Linked DNA regions of Homo sapiens: regions 1, 3, 4, 5, 6 and 7 are each linked to region 2. The links are contacts of gene promoters, found by promoter capture Hi-C in blood cells and fetal thymus (Javierre and others, 2016). All regions are on one chromosome and are shown on one strand. Each heading gives the region's core, a stretch centred on a gene start or on the middle of the fragment in contact. The rest is flanking DNA. Distances are from core to core; before and after follow the strand shown. Region 1 overlaps ARHGAP26 (Rho GTPase activating protein 26). Region 2 holds the start of YIPF5 (Yip1 domain family member 5). Region 3 has its middle 7.0 kb from the start of ARHGAP26. Region 4 overlaps ARHGAP26 (Rho GTPase activating protein 26). Region 5 overlaps ARHGAP26 (Rho GTPase activating protein 26). Region 6 overlaps PRELID2 (PRELI domain containing 2). Region 7 overlaps ARHGAP26 (Rho GTPase activating protein 26).

Region 1 (2,730 bases), core at 148-2,647, 1.2 Mb before region 2:
CTAAATGAAGAACTCCTGCTTTAATGGGCATAGAGGGCTTTCAGCCGCTTCTCCCAAGGTCGTTTTTATGGCGCAGTCTCTTTTTCTTGCGGAGTACCATTTGTGATGGGAACTGAACAAAACCCATTTGATATTGTATGCATGTCTTCTGGAGGGCTTGTGCTCAGTTTTAGAGAGCAAGCAGATTTCAGTGAGTGAAATGATCTCATGCATGTAAAGCACTTAGCACCTGACATGATTAAGTATTCATTTTTAAAAAATACTGTGCACATTTAATCATAACTACCAAGATGATGACCACCATAAAACTTCTCCATGTCTGAAGCAGTTTAGAAGCAGTGGACTAGATATTAGGAGACAAGCATGCCTCCAGGTTGGATATTTTCTCCTCTTTTTTTTATCTTGAGTCCAGTAATTCCATTCACTTCCACAAACATTTATTGCATTTCTACCGTGAGTAAAATACTCTGTTAAGCGTTTTGAGGTCTAGAAATGAATAAGATTTCAAGGAATTGAACAACGTCTAAAGGCATCACTTAACTCCTCTACGTCCCTTACCTGTAAAATAGGATCATGTCTTCTGTGTTTCTGCCTCTCTGAGGGAGATGGGCTGACTGAGAGGAATTTGGGCCATCCTTTCTGAGAGTAGAAGGTGGCTTAGTAAAGCCGAGTGTTTTGCCCCTCTTTGTGTTGTTAACCTTAGCAGCCACTGACTCTTTTGAGTGGATGTTTAAGATTTGCCTTCACCAATCTCTCTACATGTGGCACTGGTTTCATATCCATGTCCCTCCTTTCTCTGCAGGCCAGGGGTTATCACCATGCAAGCTTTGTCGGAAGAGGACCGGAGGCTCTGGATGGAAGCCATGGATGGCCGGGAACCTGTAAGTAACAATTCAGGGAAGTAGAGCAAGAATGAAGGCCCTGAGTTGTTTGTTGCTTCCCTAGTGCAGTGATTTTTGCTGCTGTTCTAAAGCCTTGGGTTCTTGAAACCAGTGTACCAGAGGTGGTTTTTTATTCCTAGGTTTATGTTTGTGGATATTGATATTGCTTCTGTATAGATGTAGTTCTTGAGCTTTGGCCTCTCTGTCCTAAGGCATGGCTTCTGCATAGAATTACACCAGAACTCCCATCTTTTATCATTGACTTCTGGTTCAGCCTCCCGTAGTAACTTACCTCCCCTTATAAGCAGCGGGACATTATCAGGATGGATGGAGGGAGGTGAGCCTGGTAATATGATCCCTGCTGCCATTTCAGCGATGCTGGCCTCAGCTGGGTGATGTAATCTTGTAGTTGTTCTGCATCTTGTGACGTGTAAAATCCATAAGAGCCCTGGAATCACTGTAGTCGTCTTATCTTAGTTCCAAGGATCTCAACTCCAGTGTTCAGCAAATCTCAAGGTTGCAGAAATTGTAAGAGTACAGTCTAACTATGTGCCACCAACAAAAGAGAAAAAGAATCTACAATGCCAGAGGGCCAATAATTGATACTTACACAGGTACTGTCCAAAGGGAGGAAATGTGTGCAAGGAAGAAGTAGGCCATGGGCTCCATTGACTATAGAACTCTTTGCGTCAGGCTGGATAATGCCAGCTGATTTGTGTGTGTCTTTCTCAGCTTACCCTGATGAGGTGGTCTGGCAACATAGATTATGTACCTTTCTACTCAGCCATATTTTATACAAACATGGGACGTAGTCAACTAGGCATAAAGAAATAGCTAGTATTGTATGACATTTAATAATATAGAGCAAGATCTCTTAAAGATTTAAATAACTGATGATTTAGGCACAGTTTGCTAAACTATAATTAAGCATTGTTTAATCTTAATTCTTCTCCTGGGCTAAAATATAAGATAGCTCTGATTATCTCTGTATACGTTGTTACCCATAGGAACCCTCAAAACCAGATACACATTTCTACCTTTGAGGCTTTATGGGCACAATAGCTATTTGATGTCAAAGGCCTTTGAAAGAAGCTTCCTAAGTAGGTCTTTCTTTTTGCTAGCATTATCTACCATTTGTTGAGCACATTTTTACATGTTAGGCACAGGACTGAGCACATTACATCTCTTAACCTGTTTATTTCTCTTAGCACTTAATGAAATAAGTGCTGTGATTCCATTTTATAGATAAGTAAACTGAAGCTTAGGGAGGTTAAGTAACTTGCCCCAAGTAGCACAGATAGTAAATGGCTATATTAGTAGGGTACAGGCTAGGTTGCTATTAACAGAGAGACTCTGAAGTACGGTGGCTTATGTAAGATAGATAAGTGTATTTCTCTCTTAGAGCCGAGAAGGGAGGAGTCCATGCCTAGTAGGGTCATTCTGCTATCCTCAGCCCATGGCTTCCCACATTGCTCCAGTCATTGCCATTTTCCAGCCAGAAAATGAGGATGAAAGCATTTCGAAGGACCCAGAAGATGCACATGTCACTTCCATTGGCTCAAACATAATGGTACAGCCATATCTACCTGCAAAGCAGGCTGGGAAACCTAGGCTGTACATAGGCAGTCATGGGCCCTGCCAGGACCCTGGACATGTTATTACTTCAAAGAAGAAGAGGAGAAAGGATACTGTGAATAGTTGGCAGTCTCCATCCTAGTGGCAAAGCTAGAATTTGACCCATGTCTAATCCTAGACATATTTGGTTTTCATCTTTAATGGAGATAAAATTTAAAATTGCCTTCGAAAAATTCTCAGTTCATTTTTACAGTACTTTCACTCACTCCCTTGA
Region 2 (2,700 bases), core at 42-2,541:
CTGTATGAAAATCGCCTGATGATTCGTAATAAGGAGCTTACATCATTAAATAATGTCACTAAGCACTTTCAATTAGCACTGATAAAAGTCTCAGAGTTGGACTGATTTAACTACTAACAAAATACTTTAATTTTTCACTGGTCCTATGAACTAACAGCCTATCTCCTAGGTACCTGAAGCTCCCATCATCTTCTAAATACAGAAATACTGTTACTAGAAAACAGTTCTTCAAACAAGCTACTTTTCCATTCATGGTACACCTGAAGAGTTTGCAGAAGACACTCAACTCTTAAATAGAACAATACCTTCGAAGCCAAGCCAGTGTCACATATCTCTCTAGAGGAAGAAGATTATGCATGAAAGATCATACTCCTGATAAAGGACATGTTCACATATTGTTTTAGGCAGAACCAAATATTCTAAATATGTGTTTTCACTGCAATGTAGACTAAATTAATTGCCAAAGATGAAAAGTTACTTGCTATAGGGTCCTCCACTTCCTCCATAATCATAGGACTGCTGTGACTGATCATCGATGCTGTAACTTGTCTGGTAGAAATCCGTGTTTAAGTTTTCAAAGCCTGACATTGCAAATAATCTGTAATAAAAGAGAAATGGCAAATATTCCTTATGCCCAAGGTTCTACTGAATTCGTTCCTGGCAGTCTGCTTAAGCAAATAGAAACACAACAAATATTTTTTCAGTAATTCGGAGAGGGGATGGGGGCGGAAAGTACGCAGCATTTGAACGACGGTAGCGGAGAGAGAGTAAGAAAATGTATATTCTTTTAAGTTGCGGCCCAGTAAGACAACTCCACCTTAAAGAGCTGATATGCCTTCCATTAGGGGCGAGGTCGTGGGAGTTGTGGTTCCATAAGCGGTCTAAAATATCAATAACAACAAAGATGATTTTTCACCTTAGGACTGGGCTTTACAGCTGACAAGGCGACTGCTTCCTTGCAAAATAAGGCCTGCGGCCTGCCAGGAAAAAGTGCAGAATCTGGAAGGTCGCGCCTGAGGTGCAGGGGACCGCGTCAGGGCAAGGGCTTGAATGAGAGCGAGGGTCTGAGCGAAAGGACCAGGGCGCGGCGCCGAAAGACGGCAACAAGCCCATTTGCACGGGTGTGGAGAGAAGCTGAACACTGTGCCACGGGCCTGGGTCACTCACCAAACTCTGAGGCTGCGCTGGCGGCAAAGGCAGTAGCTTCACTAATCCCAAACAACCCCCAAACTCTGTTTCAGACCCTGAACCAGCCCCGTTGCTACGTGTCACAGGGCCAAAGAACGGCTTCCGGGGCACGCCCGCTCGCGCAGGCGTGTTAGCAGGTTGGGCACCGGTGGGCGGGAGGAGGAGACACGAGTATGGAGCTTGCGCAGTATCTACCCAACCTGCGGCTGGCCCGTGCCAAAGAGGAAAGTGCTTCCGGCAGCCTGGTTAGGGGTGGAACCAGGAAAGCGCAGGCGTAGCAATTGCTGCTTACTCGTAGGTAGGAGGAGGAGTTTCTCAGACCTAGGTGATGGAGGAAGACTGGGAGGCGCTAAAATGAGACAGACGGAGTCCCCTCTCCTGTCCACAAACTACAATGCCTACAATGCCTCGGTGTCAGCATTTACTGTGATTCAAGCACTGTGCTAAAGTGTTTGTATGTATTATTTAATCTTTACAACCTAATGAGATGGTTACCCTATTTCCCTTTTGTAAGTGAAGCTATTAAGTATTCATTCATTCTGTGCTAGCTGCTGGGGATACTGTGGTAAATATAAGCTAGGTGACATCTACCCACCTGGAGTTGGTGGTGGAGAGGGGTAATCGAACACATACAAATGCATGTGAAATTGCTACTAATATTCTTTAGTGTTCCATAATTCTTTGAAAGAGTAACATTCATCTGGGAAGAAGAGTCTGTAAAGCCACTATAAGAGGGTTATCAAAGGGTGAGTGGGAGTTAGAGAAGACCAGAAAAGAGAAGAAAGGGCAACGGGAAAGGAGGATAAGGGAAAATAGCCTGAATATTTTAGGCAAAGAGAACAATGTGTGCAAGATCTGGGAAGCATGGTCTGAGGAAAGATGAAAATCGAGCTCTGAACTTCAGCATTATTAACATTTTGAGTCAGGATGTTTCTTTATTGGGGGCTGCCCTGTGCATGATGCTTAGCAGTAGCATCCCTAATCTCTAGCCATTAGATGCCAGTACTCCCCCCAACCAACCACCACCACCATCACCACCAAGTTGTGACAGCTAAAAATCTCTCCAGACATTGCCAAATCCAAATGTCCTTGGGGGCGGTGGGGGCAACATTAGCTGAATTTGTCAACCACTCTTCTAAGTGGAACCTGAGTGACTGGAACAGCAAGTGAGGGGAGCCACATAGGAGTTGAGGCTGGAATAACAGGAAGGGGCCAGGAAATATCCTGTGGGATTTGTGTGTTGGTTCTAAAAGAAGTGAAGATTGTGAACTGATGAGTGATGTTTAAATTGTTTTCTTTTGAAAATGATTGCTTTGGCTCCTGTGTTAAATCACTTTCCCAAGATGGTGGAATCCCGAATATTGTGACTCGAAATAAGATGCTATTAACTAATGAGCAGAACTTTCTTCAGGGTTTATAGCAATAAAATTTATCATGAGCCACTGCATTATATTCTGGGATCAAAATCCTGAGGCCCTCACAAAAGAAGCCAGACCATTGTTGGGGACTAGT
Region 3 (2,700 bases), core at 111-2,610, 1.4 Mb before region 2:
CCAAGCTGGAGTGCAGTGGCGCGATCTCGGCTCACTGCAACTTCAGCCTCCCGGGTTCACGCTATTCTCCTGCCTCAGTCTCCCAAGTAGCTGGGACTACAGGCGCCCACCACCACGCCCGGCTAATTTTTTGTATTTTTAGTAGAGATGGGGTTTTACCATGTTAGCCAGGATGGTCTCGATCTCCTGACCTCGTGATCCACCTGCTTCAGCCTCCCAAAGTGTTGGGATTACGGGTGTGAGCCACTGCGCCCGGCCAACAGCTACTAACTTTTTAAAGTCAAAAATAGAAATATAGTGATGGGAAATTCCAGAAAAGAAATACAAAGGAAAATGGGGAAGTAAAGAAATCTGCCAATATTCACTCTCCCCTAACAGACATTGTATCCCATTCGCCCTGTGTTTAGATGGAGGATAATCCATTTTAGCATTGATTTTTCATCCTGGCTTCTCCATAGATGAAAAGAAGATCAGAATACTTTATCTATTGAAATATTGCCCTCTTCACTGCCACTAAGCCACCTTCAACAAACACATGCACTCACTAAAAACCACAGCATCATCTCAAAACCGGAGCCATCAAAAGAAATGTGAATTCCCATGGATGAAAAGCCCATCCATCAATAAGGATTCGAAGTTGGGAAGTGATAGTTTCCCACTTGCTTTAGAAAGTTTGCTAATGCTTCATGACAGACTTCCTATTTTGCAATAACTAAAATGACAGAAGACTAGAAATTATCGCTTTATCTTATATGTCCTTATTCCTGCAGTCTATGTTAGTGTTTATGTCCTAAATGCATTTTTTTTTTTTTTTTTTTGAGGCGGAGTCTCACTCTGTCACCCAGGCTGGAGTGCAGTGGCGTGATTCCGGCTCATTGCAACCTCCGCCTCCCAAGTTCAAGCAATTCTCCTGCCTCAGCCTCCTGAGTAGCTGGGATTACAGGCATGCGCCACCACGCCCAGCTAATTTTGTATTTTTAATAGAGAGGGGATTTCACTATCTTAGCCAGGCTGATCTCAAACTCCCGATCTCAAGTAATCCACCTGCCTCAGCCTCCCAAAGTGCTGGGATTACAGGCGTGAGCCACCACACCCTCCTAAATGCATTTTATAGAACACTATGCATAGGATGTAATGTTTGGGGGAAAAACAGGATTCTGTGCTCAAAGAACTACGAGAAATACTTGGTTAAGCAAAATCTCAAGGATTACTTAACACAGGATTTCTCAGGATCTATAATATGCTATTGTCCATTTAAAGCATATACTCATGTATAAGATTCAGAGGCAAGAAAGAGAGCAAGGCACATAGGAATGCTTGAGTTTAGGTTACTGAAGTGAACTAATTTATTTGGTCATTTTAGCACCAACAATTATAGAAGAATAGGCCAATTATTTTTATTGACCCAGATAATTCTGGGTCTCTGTTGAAATTGTCTTTGATAGTTTTCTGGTTTCATATCAGCTTTTGAACAGTTTATTTTTATCAATAGAGTGTCCTTTTGCTTAAATACTTTTCCTCATTTAATACATATTCCTGCCCTGTAAATGCAGATATCATCTTTTAATGTTTAAGAAATCATCCTTAAAACTATGATTTTCTAATGTGAAAACTGCCTAAGAACCATGGATTAATGCAGCTGCTGAAAATCCAAGAGGAGGTGAAACAATAGGTTTTATAATTAATGCATTATATCAACTAGAGTAGTTTTGACTTTGAGTAACAGGAAACCCCATTAATGTAGCTTAAACAAATAGGTTGTTTTTTCCCTCTTTATGTGATGAGTAGTTGGGAGGTGGGTACTCTGGAGATGGGTATTGTGGCTCGTGGGTGTCACCAAGCTACCTGGCTCCCTCTGTTTTCCCATCCAGCCATCCTTAGCATGTGATATTCATCTTCATGACTGCAAGATGGCTGCTGCTGCTCCATGCATTGCATCCACATTCAAGACAAAAAGAATAGGGAAATGAAGTAAGCAGAAGGTGTGTGTCAGCAGTTGTCTCTTTATTAAAAAAACAACAAGAACAAAAAAACACACAAACCTTTCCAAAGCCCCAGCCAATACACTTCCAAGTGTATCTCAGTGGTCAGAAAAGTGGCACATGGCCACCACCAGCTGTGTGAAAACCTAAGAAATTAAATTCTTTAGTTGGGCACATTGGGGTTCTGCTAGAAACGTAACCTAAGTCTGGAGCTAGACTACCTTTTGAGAATCTCAGCTCTGCCACTCATTAGTTATATGATTTTAGGTGATTCATTTCACTTGCCTCCCCTGTAAAGGGAGATAAGATAATAATAGGGTTGCTAAGTATTAATTGAGTTAATATTTTTAAAGTGTTTAGAACTGTATCTGGTATACAGTAAATGTTATATAAGCACTTTCAATAAATGAGTAAGGTAAAGAGTGAATATTAGGTAGAAAAGTGGCAAGCATGAAATAAATCATGAAAACTGAAAATAAAAGTATTGCTAACATGTAAAACTTGTGTAGAACAAATGCTATGAGTTTCACTAATTTCTTGAGCCAAAGAATGTTAAATAGGTGCTGCTACCTCCCTTAAAGAACTATGAGCCAGTGGCTTTATGAGGATAGATTATTCTTTTTTCTTTAAGGAAACTGAGAATTTTATGTCTGTTTCAATCAACTGCTTCTACATAAATTGTAGGGCCTGTGATTTAAAGCTAAAGCAAATTAGAGGC
Region 4 (2,795 bases), core at 174-2,673, 1.3 Mb before region 2:
TCAATAGTTGAACAGACCATCTTTATAGATTTTTGCTGATATGGTATGGTCATCCTTGGAACAGAATATTAATCTTCCTCCTCTTTCTGCATGTATTTGGTGATCCTTTATATATCCCTATTCCCTCCCATTTCTCTGGGACACCTCATGTAATCTTTCAAAGTGGAAGCTGGTCCATAGCCATTAAATCAGATTTATAGTTAGACATCAGCAAAGTCAGAATCTCTTATGTTTGGGTGTTTGCACTCAGATATTTTACAGACTAGAGAAAGAGCAGTTCTGTCTGAGAAATTAATCTTTGCTATTCAGTGGAAGACAATAGGTATAAGGCCTGTGAATATAAACTGTCTCCTCCTAGGCCTTCTGTGTTTTGTTTGCTCTTCTGATATTAGTGGGTGGTTAAATTTTACCTTATGTAGCCACACTTTCTGTTATTTCAACAAACTGGGCAAGCTTGCTAATTTCCCCTGTTAGTTTAGATAAAAAAGATTGACAGAGGCAGGAGAAACAGAAACCCTAACAAATTCCTAAGTGACAGTAAGAAGAAATCAGGGACAGCAACTTCTGTGTTTCTGGGCAATAAACTAGTGCTATGAGATGAAATTGTCACATTCAGTTGAACAATGGAATACTACTCAACAATAAAGAGAAATAAGCCCTTGATATGCACAACAATGTGGATGAATAGCAAAGCAATTACGTTAAGTGAAAAAAGCCAGACAAAAAGAGCACATACTGTGTAGTTCCATTTATATAAAATTATAGACTATGCAAACTAATCAATAGTTACAGAAAGCAGATTCAGCGATTGCTTGGGGATGTACTAGGAGGAGGGATGGATTGCCAGGGGATACAAGGAAACTTTTGGGGATGATGGAATTGTTTGCTGGCTTGGTTGTGGTGTTGGTTTCATGGATGTATATGACATCAAAATCTATAAGTTGTACAGTTCAACATGTACAGCTTATACCTTAATCATATGTCAGTAAAGTTGTTAAAATGTATTTATTGAGGAGCTACTCTTTTCTAGGATCCAGTTGGGCCCAGGAGACAAAAGTAAGCAAAATTTGACCCAGTCTCTGTTCTCAGGGTCCTGTGGTCTAATGGAGAGAGAGACATTATTGTATTCATCACCTATATCAATGCGCAGTTTCAGCTATGGTCAGTGCTGTGATGGAGGGAGATGTACATGGTGCTTTGTGAACACGTTCTGGGGATATTTGTTCTGATCCAGGAAGATTTTTTTGGAGAAGTGATGACCAACCCAAGATCATAGAAGCTCAGAGTTAGGAGGAGACCATCTTCTTCTACTCTTATCAAACCTGCAAATTAAAACAATGTCAACACTCGTTTATCTACCATGGACAGATGCGGTGCCATCATGATCCACCCGTACTAAAGATGTTTGGGTCCAAGTCTAACATGGTATACGAATGTAAGCTGCATGAGGCTTTGTCCTGGAAAGGTTTATAGTCACCCTTCCACTGCCCATGGTCATGAGCACTCAGATTTGAGAAGATGAAATGATTGCTCCTGTTTACATGTCATGTATGTCCTGGGAGGAGTAGAGCTCCCATTCTGGCCTCATCTTGATAGTCTGTGTGTTCCCACTAGGGAGAAGATGAATCAGTTATCCTCAAATCCTGCACACGGCGGAAAACAGACTCCATTGAGAAGAGGTTTTGCTTTGATGTGGAAGCAGTAGACAGGTGAGTAGCTAGCATGCTTTTCTCAGGAGCAAATAGAGCTGAATTTCTATATCTTACTTTTTCTTTCCAGTCAAACCTTTTCTGCTTTTTTCCCCTTCTCCCCCTCCCTCCTTCCTTTCCTTCTCCCCCTGCCTCCTTCCTTTCCTTCTCCATCCATTCATCTATGTCCAGGGTGCTGGATCCAGGCTATTGCTGATTTGCGAGAATCATTAGAACCTCCCTATCTTTTGGGTTCAGCACTGAATCACTGGCTTGGTTTTGTTTTACTTTAATATTAGTGCTTTCATGCTCAGAAATGTGTGTTATATCTCCAGGAGATTGAGTAGTAGACTTTTAAAGAAAAGTATTTAGCATGATTGTATCAGCTATTTGAATTTTTTTTAACTGAAAAAGTTAGTATAATGATTCGAAAGGCATTGAAATGGAAGAAATTTTTCTCAAATAAAAAAACAGCTTTTAGTTACATTTCACCTACCAGTGTGTGTGCGTGCCCAGGAAAGACACCAAACCACTCGTGAAATCACAATTTTTTGGAGAGAGAGCCGTGTGTTGTATTCCTCGAGATTTATAGAGTCTCTCATTAAGTTGTACCATTTCGTGGTGTTAAGCTAGTTTGACAACATTCCAATTCTTTGAGACACTTTACTTGGCAACAGGTTAATTTTTTCAATGAAACCCACGTGTTAAGCTTATTTGAGCTGCCTGTTCAAGATCAGGAATGCTAGCACCAAGATCCTTAAATCTCAGCATGATACTCCGTATAATGCCATTTAATCTCTTCCTTTTATTAAAAAAACATTATACCATTTCATCAAGCCAGTACTCACCCCTCCCTGGGAAGTTCATCTGTGGCCACCTTTCCCTGGCTCTATGGCATCCTGAGACTGAGTACTGCCTGGGGTTGCACTGCCTTCTTCTGGCAGGTGTCTACTCTGCACTGCAGGCTGCTGGGGCTGCTGGAGGCTGTTAGGCCTCCCATGGAGACAGCGTGCCCCCTTAGCCTTTATCAGAAATTCGTGGAAACTAACTGCATCTCTTAAGCAATTTAGTCATTACATCTTTGGCTGTCAAGCCAGACAACCTGGG
Region 5 (2,891 bases), core at 31-2,530, 1.3 Mb before region 2:
TCGCGCCACTGCACTCCAGCCTGGGCGACAGAGTGAGACTCTTTCTCAAAAAAAACCAAAAACCAAACATCAAAAAACAAACAAAAAAAAGAACAGTGATGATATTACTACTGCCACTAACCACATCAATAGCAACTATAATATAGGGAAACATTTGTTGAATGCATATTTATGGCCTGGGTATGGTGTTAAGCACTTTACATGGAATCTTCTGGAATCCTCACCCTAAGAGGTATAGATGTGGTTACTACTCTGTTTTACACATGAGGAAACTGAGGCTCAGATAGGATAAATAGCTTAGTGGTAGCGAGTTAACTCCAGCACTGGCTGTGCAGCCCTTTCCCTTCACCCAGTTTGCTTTTCTACGTCTCTATCTGGGGAGGGATGTTGAGGCTCTCTTGCCTGCTGACCATGTTATTTAGTGCCAGTGTCATGATATAGAATTAGAGAGAGGGAAGGACCTTAGTGATCATCCATTTCAACTTTCTTGAATTACGTTTTATGAGGGAACTGAGTTTCTCGTAGGGGTCAGGTGTTTTGCTCAAGGTGTTCAGCTATGTATTGATCATTTTCTTCACATTTATTAAAAATTCAACTTTTAGGAACATTGTTGAGCACGTGGTACACCTTTGATGAAACCTTCCACTCTGATTATCCAGAGTTGTTCCCTGATTGCAGGGTTCTGCACGGAATGCTTTTAAATTCCAGCCCATCCCTAGATCCCTGGAAGTAGAAACTACAGGGCAGTGATGTGGAATGGCACTGCCATCTAGTGGATGATTTAAACAAATGCATAGTTTTTGAATGGTAAAAAAGCTCGCCTCAAAAACAGTAGTCATTGATTCAACAAATACTCACTGGACGCTTCTGTAAAAGTCTGTCCAGGCACTGGGTGTTTTGTAGAAAGTGAAATGAAGGATCTTCTTTCATGGAAATTACAATCTAGGAGGAAGTCTCTTTTCCAAGAAACGCAGAATGGTTGACGGGTTTAATCAAGCCGGTAGATTTATAGCTTCTCAAGTGGCAGGCAGGGAAACTGTCTTGAGCGGTCTGCAGGGTGGGTTGGGATCCTGGCTTATAATTCCATTGCAGGGGGCCCAAGGATGTGATGGATTCTGTGGCCCACACCATTCTGGGGCATTGGCAAGAGAAGCATAACATTCCGCTTAGGATTTCTTCTTCCTTTTCCTTTGGGAATGCATTGAGTTATGCATTTGTTCTTAGTTCTGGGTCACTGATGGGACATGCCTTTGGTGCTGACTGATGGCCACATGGGGATCAATTCATTCATTCTGCATGCATCTGTTGAACGTTTATTATGGGCCATACACCGTTCTGAGCACTGGAGGAGAAAAATGAAAAAATTAGACGAGGTCTTTGTTCTCATGGACTTTATATTCTAGTAGTCTAGTAGGCCAGGCACGGTGGCTCATGCCTGTAATCCCAGCACTTTGGTAGGCCAAGGCGGGTGGATCACTTGAGGTCAAGAGTTTGAGACCAGCCTGGCCAACAAGGCGAAACCCTGTCTCTAGTGAAAATGCAAAAAAAAAATTAGCTAGATGTGGTGGCACGCGCCTGTAATCCCAGCTACTTGGGAGGCTGAGGCAGGAGAATCACTTGAACCCAGGAGGCGGAGTTTGCAGTGAGCTGAGATCATGCCACTCCACTCCAGCCTGGGCAACAGAGCGAGACTCTGTCTCAAGAAAGGAATAGATAAGAGTTTAAATTGGGAGATGAGACAGAGATTTCCTGGTAACCTATTTAAAATAACATAGTCAATGAAAGCCTCTCCTAAAGAGGTAACATTTAAACTGAGCCCAGAAGGAATGAGCTAATGAAAGGCCAGGACAATCTTCTTCAGGTTGTGAGTGTGTCGCAAAATCACAGTTTTTGGGTTATGCAATAGGGTAGGCTAAAATAGAATGAAAAATACAAGGCCTGGCGCGGTGGCTCATGCCTGGAATCTCAGCACTTTGGGAGGCTGAGGTGGACAGATCACCTGAGGTCTGGAGTTCGAGACCAGCCTGACCAACGTGGAGAAACCCCCATCTCTATTAAAAATACAAAATTGGCCGGGCATGGTGGTGCATGCCTGTAATCCCAGCTACTTGGGAAGGCTGAGGCAGGAGAATATCTTGAACCTGGGAGGCGGAGGTTGCGGTGAGCCGAATTCGCGCCATTGTACTCCAGCCTGGGTAACAAGAGCGAAACTCCGTCTTAAAAAAAAAAAAAAAATATATATATATATATATATATATATATATATATATATATATATATGAAAGTGCATTGCATTTAACCATTATAAATGTGTGTTTATTGAGTCATAATATAAAAAGTATTTCTTACTCTATGTTGAAGTTAAAATGTGTGTTTATCTAGGAGAAGAGGTTTTTGGGCAGAATGAACACCAGGTGAAAAGGTTGTGGGAAAGAAAGCGGTTTGGAGTGTTAGAGGACAGGAAGGAGATCCAGCAGTTACTCATGTCACCATGCTGGAGCATGGTGACAGTGGGTTAGGATGGGAGGAGGTGAGGCTGGAGGGTTGGGCAGATTATTACACAGGGTCTTGCAGACCATGGTAGAGGCCATGAGAAGTCCTTGAAGGGGACCATGAGACCATCTGATTTAGATTTTAAGGAAGATATTCTGGCTCCTGTGTGCAGAGTGGATTGGGGCAGAGGGAGAGAATGAAGACAGAGAGACCAGTTAGGAGAGAAGTGTAGTAGCCCAGAGATGATGTGGCTGGTTTAGGGTAGAGCAGGAAGTGAGACCCCTGTGTTCTGAAGTGCCTGGTGACAGCAACCACCGACATGCACGGGACACTTTCCAGTTTTCAAATGGTTTACATCATTTGGCCCATTTTCTCTTGGAAACACTCTACTCAGAAGC
Region 6 (2,760 bases), core at 91-2,590, 1.7 Mb after region 2:
CTCATTCAGTCCTTCTCAAAGCGTGGAAACCTATCAAGTATTAATATACAGAGTATTTCTGCTATAAATATAATAGTGTAAAGCCCGCAGACAAGCAGGTTCACATGGGATTCTTCAATCCCCATTTCATACTAGAGACTCTCATGAAAGCAATGTGATCTGAAGACCCAGATATCTGCCAAAAGCCCTTGTCTTTCTTGATCCTGGCTTAGCTGATCACAAACTGCAGTGTGCAAGAGAACGATCCCACAGGCTGCATACATATGCCATGTATGCTATACTACTTTATGGATGATTTAAGGGATTTTTAAAGGTATATTTGACTTCATTTTGCATTTCCTTATAATTTTTAATTTCTTCACAGAACGTGTAAACTAACTCCTTTTCCTTTCCCGAAGACATGAAACTACTACAAATACCACTGTATATATCATATGTATGTAACAGTCTAACAAGGGTAAAATGTAGACGTGCCTAAAGCTGTTGTATCTGCTTGCTTTAGTTTTTACATATTAAAAGATAAGCCAAGAACTCCATAATATTGGGGGGGAATATGCATTAAAGCAAACACATATATATAAAAAGTTAGAGGCAAGAAACTGAATCCATCTAATTACAGAATATTCAATATGTTTCTGGGAGAAGCTTCATGAAGATATAACATTTTGCATTCATATTTGCCGAGGGAAAAAAAAACCCATAAGCTTTCAGAAAGCCTACTCTTAAAAGAGTTATTAAAATATGAACTTTCCAAAAAGCTCAAAAGCCAATGCCTTTTTTTAATAACATTTGCTTCCCCTCTCAGAAACAGTCAGTGACATCCAAAGGAGTCACTGTCTACCAATTTACAAATGAGGTTACCAGAGAGAGTACAAGGAAGCAGGTGACTGACAGATCTGTCTGAAGAGTCCTTCAAAGAAGGCAAAGAAGACCTACAGTAAGTCTGGTATATTAACATACCCGTGTTATAAGCATTAAGGGAATCTGTTATCTAGGCTGCTGCCAAACATGTACATGCAAAGAGATGGGGCTGCTGAAAAGAGATTTGGTGTTTAGCAGCAGAAAGAAATCACCATGAGCTATGCCAAATTCCTTTTATGAGCTCCACACCATAGTCTATCTCAGAAGAAAAGCAAAGTTGATTTTATACCAAGACGAAACGAGTTATAAATTAATCAAAATTTCAATGATCAAGGACAAAACGTACTTAAGTTGAAAAGTATTTGGAATGGCTGTTCATTGGTCTTTCAATAGGATGATGAAATAGAAAGAACAAAGGGCAACGAGCCAAGACATGCAGACTACAACGCTGCCATCTGTGAGGTCGGGGTGATGAACCACCAGGTGATCATCCAAGATCCTTCTGGCCAGGAAAAGCTATGGTTCCAAACAAAGGCCAACCAACAGCACATCAGCCTCTTTCTTTCAAAAATGACCCAATAATCAGCAACGGCATAGTGAAGGTTTTGAAAAGACAGTTTTTCATTGTAACACAGAGGAAAATCCTCTTATCACAACATCAAATGTATGCATAAACCCAGTGCAGCTAAAGATACACTACAAATAACTGCCCAGCACTCTTCAAAATCACCATGGTCCGGAAATGCAAGGAAAGACTGAGGAACCGTCCTACACTGCAGGACACTGGCAGCTAAATGCAATGTGGGGTCCTGAATTGGATGCTAGACTGGAAAAACGATACTAGTGGACAATTGACAAAATCTAAATAGGGTCTATAGGTTAGTTAATAGCATTGTATCAGTGTTAATTTCCTGGTTTTAAAAAGTATACTGTGGTTTGGGGAAGCTGGAAAAAAGTATGTGGGAATTCTTTGTTTCTGCAATATTGTTTTTGAAATGTTTTATAAGTCAAATTATTTATAAATGAAAAGAAATAAAAAACAAAATTAAAGACACGATGTTAGAAAACAGTGAATTTTAGAGCCCAAGAGATCTGAATTGGAATCCTATCTGTGAGAAGCTTGGACAAATCACTTTAATCTGCCCTAGTTTCTTCATCTGTAAAATGAGAATAAATACTTACCTCAAAGAGTTGTTATAAGAATTAAAGGAAACAATTTAATTACAGTATAATACCTAGCACTGTGCAAGTAGAAAATAAATGTAGCTGGTTTTGCTACTAACAAATGAATCAACACTTTTGAAGACTTAAAAAGTTTCAAGATTTTGGTTTTTATCTTGCAATTTACTGTGGTGTGGCATTAAATACATTGCTGGCATCTATCTGCAATCCAAAAATACTTACACAATGATTTTAAAATGATTAGAAGATAATATATCTGATTTTCCTAGACTAATAAAAAACTCAGAAGCTCGTGCTTTACCAGTTCGGAATTTGTGTAAGATACAAGGCCTCCCTGACACTTCACTCCACACTAGCATTAGGGAAAGGGCTGCACCAGAGAAGTAAGAGTGCTGGAGAGAATATTTACTTGTTTTTAAAAAGACAACTGTTTCTAAATAGTTTAAATGCTTTCATGGATTTATAATTAAAATATAAATCTTGCCCCATACTACAATGTAATGTCTGCCATATGCCCCCAAGAAAGCCTTTATCATGAAAATTAATATATCCTCCTCTGTCCCTTTTGACAGTGAACTCCTTGAAGACAGGTCCATGTACTTAGATAGTGAAAAAAATCTTTTTTTTTTTTTTTTTTTTTTTTGAGACTGGGTCTCACTTTGTCATCCACGCTGGAGTGCAGTGATGCAATTACAGCTCACTGCAACCTCTGCCTCC
Region 7 (2,958 bases), core at 40-2,539, 1.4 Mb before region 2:
TCTTTTTAATGACTGCAGAGAGCTTTATGTGGATATGCCATAGTTGGTATTTACTCAGTTTCCTGTTGAAGGATATTTGGATTGTCTCTGTTGTTCACTATTAGAAGGCGTGCTGCAGTGATTATTTGCACACCTGCTTTTGTGTGTGGATTCCAGCATTTCCCTGAGATGGATTCCTTCAAGTGGAATGGTTGCTGGCTCCAGTTTTTACAAGCCCTTTGACATCTGTTGTTTAGGTCCTTTGCATCCTTGTAGCCGGTTGATAATTTGGTGCTCCTTTGAGTATGTTAGATTGTTTCTGAAGCTTAATCTTTTGGTTAAATCAGAAGCATCCTTAACAGACCCTTCTGTTAGACACTGACACTGATTTTAAAACAACCAAGGGATAGAAAAAAAAAAAAAACTTAGTGTGTGTGTATGTGTGCCAGGGAAAGAGAGATGACAATTAATTGGATGTGTCCCTATTAGCCCTGGAACTGCTTGATATGCTTTCTGAGTGGCATGTTCTTATAGGTCAGATGGGAGATGGGATGGGGCTTTGCCCATATCTAAGAGTCTATTCTAACCTCCAGGCTCAGGGACTAGGAAGGAAATCATGTTTATTTAGGGTGAGAACAACAGCATTAGCAGCCAGAGGAATTTTTACAAATTATAGTGACTGGGGTTTACACATTTTTGTAGCACCTCAGAATGGAGAGAGAGGAAATGGTAAGGAAAACAGCTTGGCAGTGTGGGCCACGAGCTGTCATGGCATGTTTGTGTCTGGCTCATTTCACCTTGATTGGAAGGCACAGAATGCTGCCCTGGGTAAGCTGGAGACTGGGCAGTTTCCTGCTATATTTAGAAAGAGGAGATTCCTGGGGTTAGGGTGGTGTGTGTGTGTGTGTGTGTGTTTTCTTTGCCAGATAGACAAAGGTTTGAGGGGTTTGTGAATTCCACACCAAACTGTTAACTAGCTGGTTTCTCTGGGCCAAGCCAGTAGCTACTCTTTGACTCTTGCTGCTGCCACACAGCAAAAGCTCAAAAAACTCCTATTTTATATGGTTTGAAAAGATACCGCTGGTAAGTTTCAAAACTCATCTGATCTTGCTGTCACATCTGCTTTTAAGTTTACTGCAGGCTAATTTGAACACTTTGAAAATATGAACTGCCTCCTCCTCTGAGACTTCAGATAGATCTCCAAGCTGACTGAGTTGAACTTTGGCTGTTTCTGTGCCAAGGAGACTGTCAAACAGATAGGACCAAAGCCTTAGCAAATTCCTGACTGCGTATCTCGTTATCACACTTGTGGGTCAGGGGTAGACAATGAATATTAGTCGAACAAATAAAATAAGGCATTTTTACTTTAACTCATAGCTATGTTTCTTTTTAAAAGGGTTGCCTAAATAGGTAATACCTATAAGTTGTTCATAATTCAAAAGAGACAAAAGAGAATGTGAATATCCCTCCAATGCTTCCTGTCTCCTGATCCCCACTTCTTCCTCTGGAGGCATTTTATTGGTTTCTTTGGTATTTTTCAGATGTAATTTATGCATGTGCCAACAAATACACATACACATTGTGCCATATGTGCTGTTTTACCCTTTGCTTTTAATATATTAGATATTATTCTACATTGGTACATAGAGAGCTCACTCATTGTTAGATTGCATTGTATTCTATTGTATGAATTAAATATAGTGTATGTAACCATTCCCCTAATAATAAACATTTAGATTATTTCCAACCTTTCACCATTGCAAGTAATGTTGTTGTGAACATCCTGGCACCTCTGGCATGAGGCACATGAGTGACAAATTCCTAGAAATGAAACTGCTGGACCAAAGGGTATGTACATTTTTCATTTTAATAAGTATTTCATAACAGTGTTTCTGAAAAGTTCTAAGTGAACTGAATTTGATAAACCATGATTTTAGAGTAGGAAGGAAACTCACCATTTTAGACAGTTTATTACAGAATGGTCTCTGTAAATAAAACAATACTTAGAATTTTCTCCATTTTCCCCTTTCCAGTTTGTGTGTATTGTTAATTCTGGGATTAAAAGCCACAGCAAAAATCATTCCCTAAACTGAGACAGCTGTACCTAGAAATCAGTTGAATGTAGGATCCCAGAGACCTTGTTTGTGTTCCTAGTGATGGTGCTGTTGAGTTTTTATCTTTGTGCGGTGCGTGTAACATTCAGGAGATTCGGCAGGTTTGTTGAAGGAGGGCAGTCTTCTGCCTTCTGTGACCGGAGACCGTGACTCTGGTCTAGGGGACACGTTGCCTATCATAGAAGCTTCCCGGTGGGCACTGGAATTCCTGGGAGCTGGTGAGGGAGTCGGGAGTTTTGCATGACATCTCTCTCTGGCAGCTTCTCCTGCAGAGCTTAGCACTTTTCCCTGATAGAGGACAGGATCATGCCACATGTCCTCTGCCATCTCTGTTCCAGCTCCTGTTGATGTAGAAGGCTACATTGGCCAGGTTCCTGGCATGAAGCAGGCACAGTCCTTGTCTCCTAGATGCTCACTGTTTTGAGAGGAGGCAGGGAAACAGGCAGCCCACAGCACAAAGGGGAGATTGCTAGCAGTTTAAAAGGGCCTCTGGGGGAGGGAGCAGAGGCCTGTGGGAAAGGCAACTGAAGGCTTATCGAGCCCAAGGGGGCAGTGTGGTCACTAATGATCAGTCATGTGAAGGGTACCTCTGTTATTTTTGCCCCACCTCACCACCCTTTATTTACTTTGAAAAAAGTCTACTCATTACAAAATACATTTATTTCAAAAAGGAGCTTTTGAACCTGCATTCAGAAATTGCAAGTTTGATATGGTTAACTTTTTTTTTCTAAATATCTTCAAATAATTATTAAATCATAATCATTACATTGAAAAGTATTTGTCATTGTATTGCCTAAAATAATCCCATATTTCACCAGTGTTATGAGAGTCATTCTCTTCTTAACACTGTCCCAAGGCAGAAGTA

The links. The method cuts DNA at HindIII sites, captures the fragments that hold promoters and counts their contacts. A CHiCAGO score of 5 or more calls a contact.
Region 1: a contact is called between a fragment that was not itself captured here and the fragment with the promoter of YIPF5 in region 2, in 5 of 17 cell types (total B cells, naive B cells, total CD4 T cells and 2 more). The highest score is 9.4, in total B cells.
Region 3: a fragment that was not itself captured here is called in contact with the fragment with the promoter of YIPF5 in region 2 in 1 of 17 cell types (fetal thymus); the score reaches 5.5 in fetal thymus.
Region 4: a contact is called between a fragment that was not itself captured here and the fragment with the promoter of YIPF5 in region 2, in 5 of 17 cell types (total CD4 T cells, naive CD8 T cells, non-activated CD4 T cells and 2 more). The highest score is 7.0, in total CD4 T cells.
Region 5: a contact is called between a fragment that was not itself captured here and the fragment with the promoter of YIPF5 in region 2, in 1 of 17 cell types (total CD4 T cells). The highest score is 5.1, in total CD4 T cells.
Region 6: a contact is called between a fragment that was not itself captured here and the fragment with the promoter of YIPF5 in region 2, in 5 of 17 cell types (M0 macrophages, M2 macrophages, naive B cells and 2 more). The highest score is 14.0, in M0 macrophages.
Region 7: a fragment that was not itself captured here is called in contact with the fragment with the promoter of YIPF5 in region 2 in 1 of 17 cell types (total CD4 T cells); the score reaches 6.6 in total CD4 T cells.

The regions. Positions count from the first base shown.
Region 1 is chr5:142,931,245-142,933,974 of GRCh38, forward strand. ARHGAP26 (Rho GTPase activating protein 26) reads left to right here. Exons shown (of 23, transcript NM_001135608.3): 11 at 803-881. Among named protein-coding and RNA genes, the nearest start is that of ARHGAP26-AS1, 64 kb to the left of the region's middle. The HindIII fragment of the contact is 1,148 bases long and covers 824-1,971 here.
Region 2 is chr5:144,169,368-144,172,067 of GRCh38, forward strand. YIPF5 (Yip1 domain family member 5) reads right to left here and starts at 1,292. Exons shown (of 6, transcript NM_030799.9): 1 at 1,168-1,292; 2 at 479-598. The coding sequence starts at 588. It overlaps KCTD16 (potassium channel tetramerization domain containing 16), which reads left to right and starts at 1,506. Exons shown (of 4, transcript NM_020768.4): 1 at 1,506-1,642. RefSeq lists an enhancer at 1,154-1,433. The HindIII fragment of the contact is 8,610 bases long and covers 1-2,700 here.
Region 3 is chr5:142,761,991-142,764,690 of GRCh38, forward strand. No RefSeq gene overlaps it. Among named protein-coding and RNA genes, the nearest start is that of ARHGAP26, 7.0 kb to the right of the region's middle. The HindIII fragment of the contact is 3,227 bases long and covers 1-2,700 here.
Region 4 is chr5:142,911,585-142,914,379 of GRCh38, forward strand. It overlaps ARHGAP26 (Rho GTPase activating protein 26), which reads left to right. Exons shown (of 23, transcript NM_001135608.3): 10 at 1,615-1,709. Among named protein-coding and RNA genes, the nearest start is that of ARHGAP26-AS1, 44 kb to the left of the region's middle. The HindIII fragment of the contact is 1,944 bases long and covers 452-2,395 here.
Region 5 is chr5:142,887,918-142,890,808 of GRCh38, forward strand. The region is part of intron 5 of ARHGAP26 (Rho GTPase activating protein 26); the gene reads left to right. Among named protein-coding and RNA genes, the nearest start is that of ARHGAP26-AS1, 20 kb to the left of the region's middle. The HindIII fragment of the contact is 3,703 bases long and covers 1-2,891 here.
Region 6 is chr5:145,826,171-145,828,930 of GRCh38, forward strand. The region is part of intron 1 of PRELID2 (PRELI domain containing 2); the gene reads right to left. Among named protein-coding and RNA genes, the nearest start is that of PRELID2, 7.8 kb to the right of the region's middle. The HindIII fragment of the contact is 1,276 bases long and covers 703-1,978 here.
Region 7 is chr5:142,778,554-142,781,511 of GRCh38, forward strand. The region is part of intron 1 of ARHGAP26 (Rho GTPase activating protein 26); the gene reads left to right. Among named protein-coding and RNA genes, the nearest start is that of ARHGAP26, 9.7 kb to the left of the region's middle. The HindIII fragment of the contact is 1,974 bases long and covers 303-2,276 here.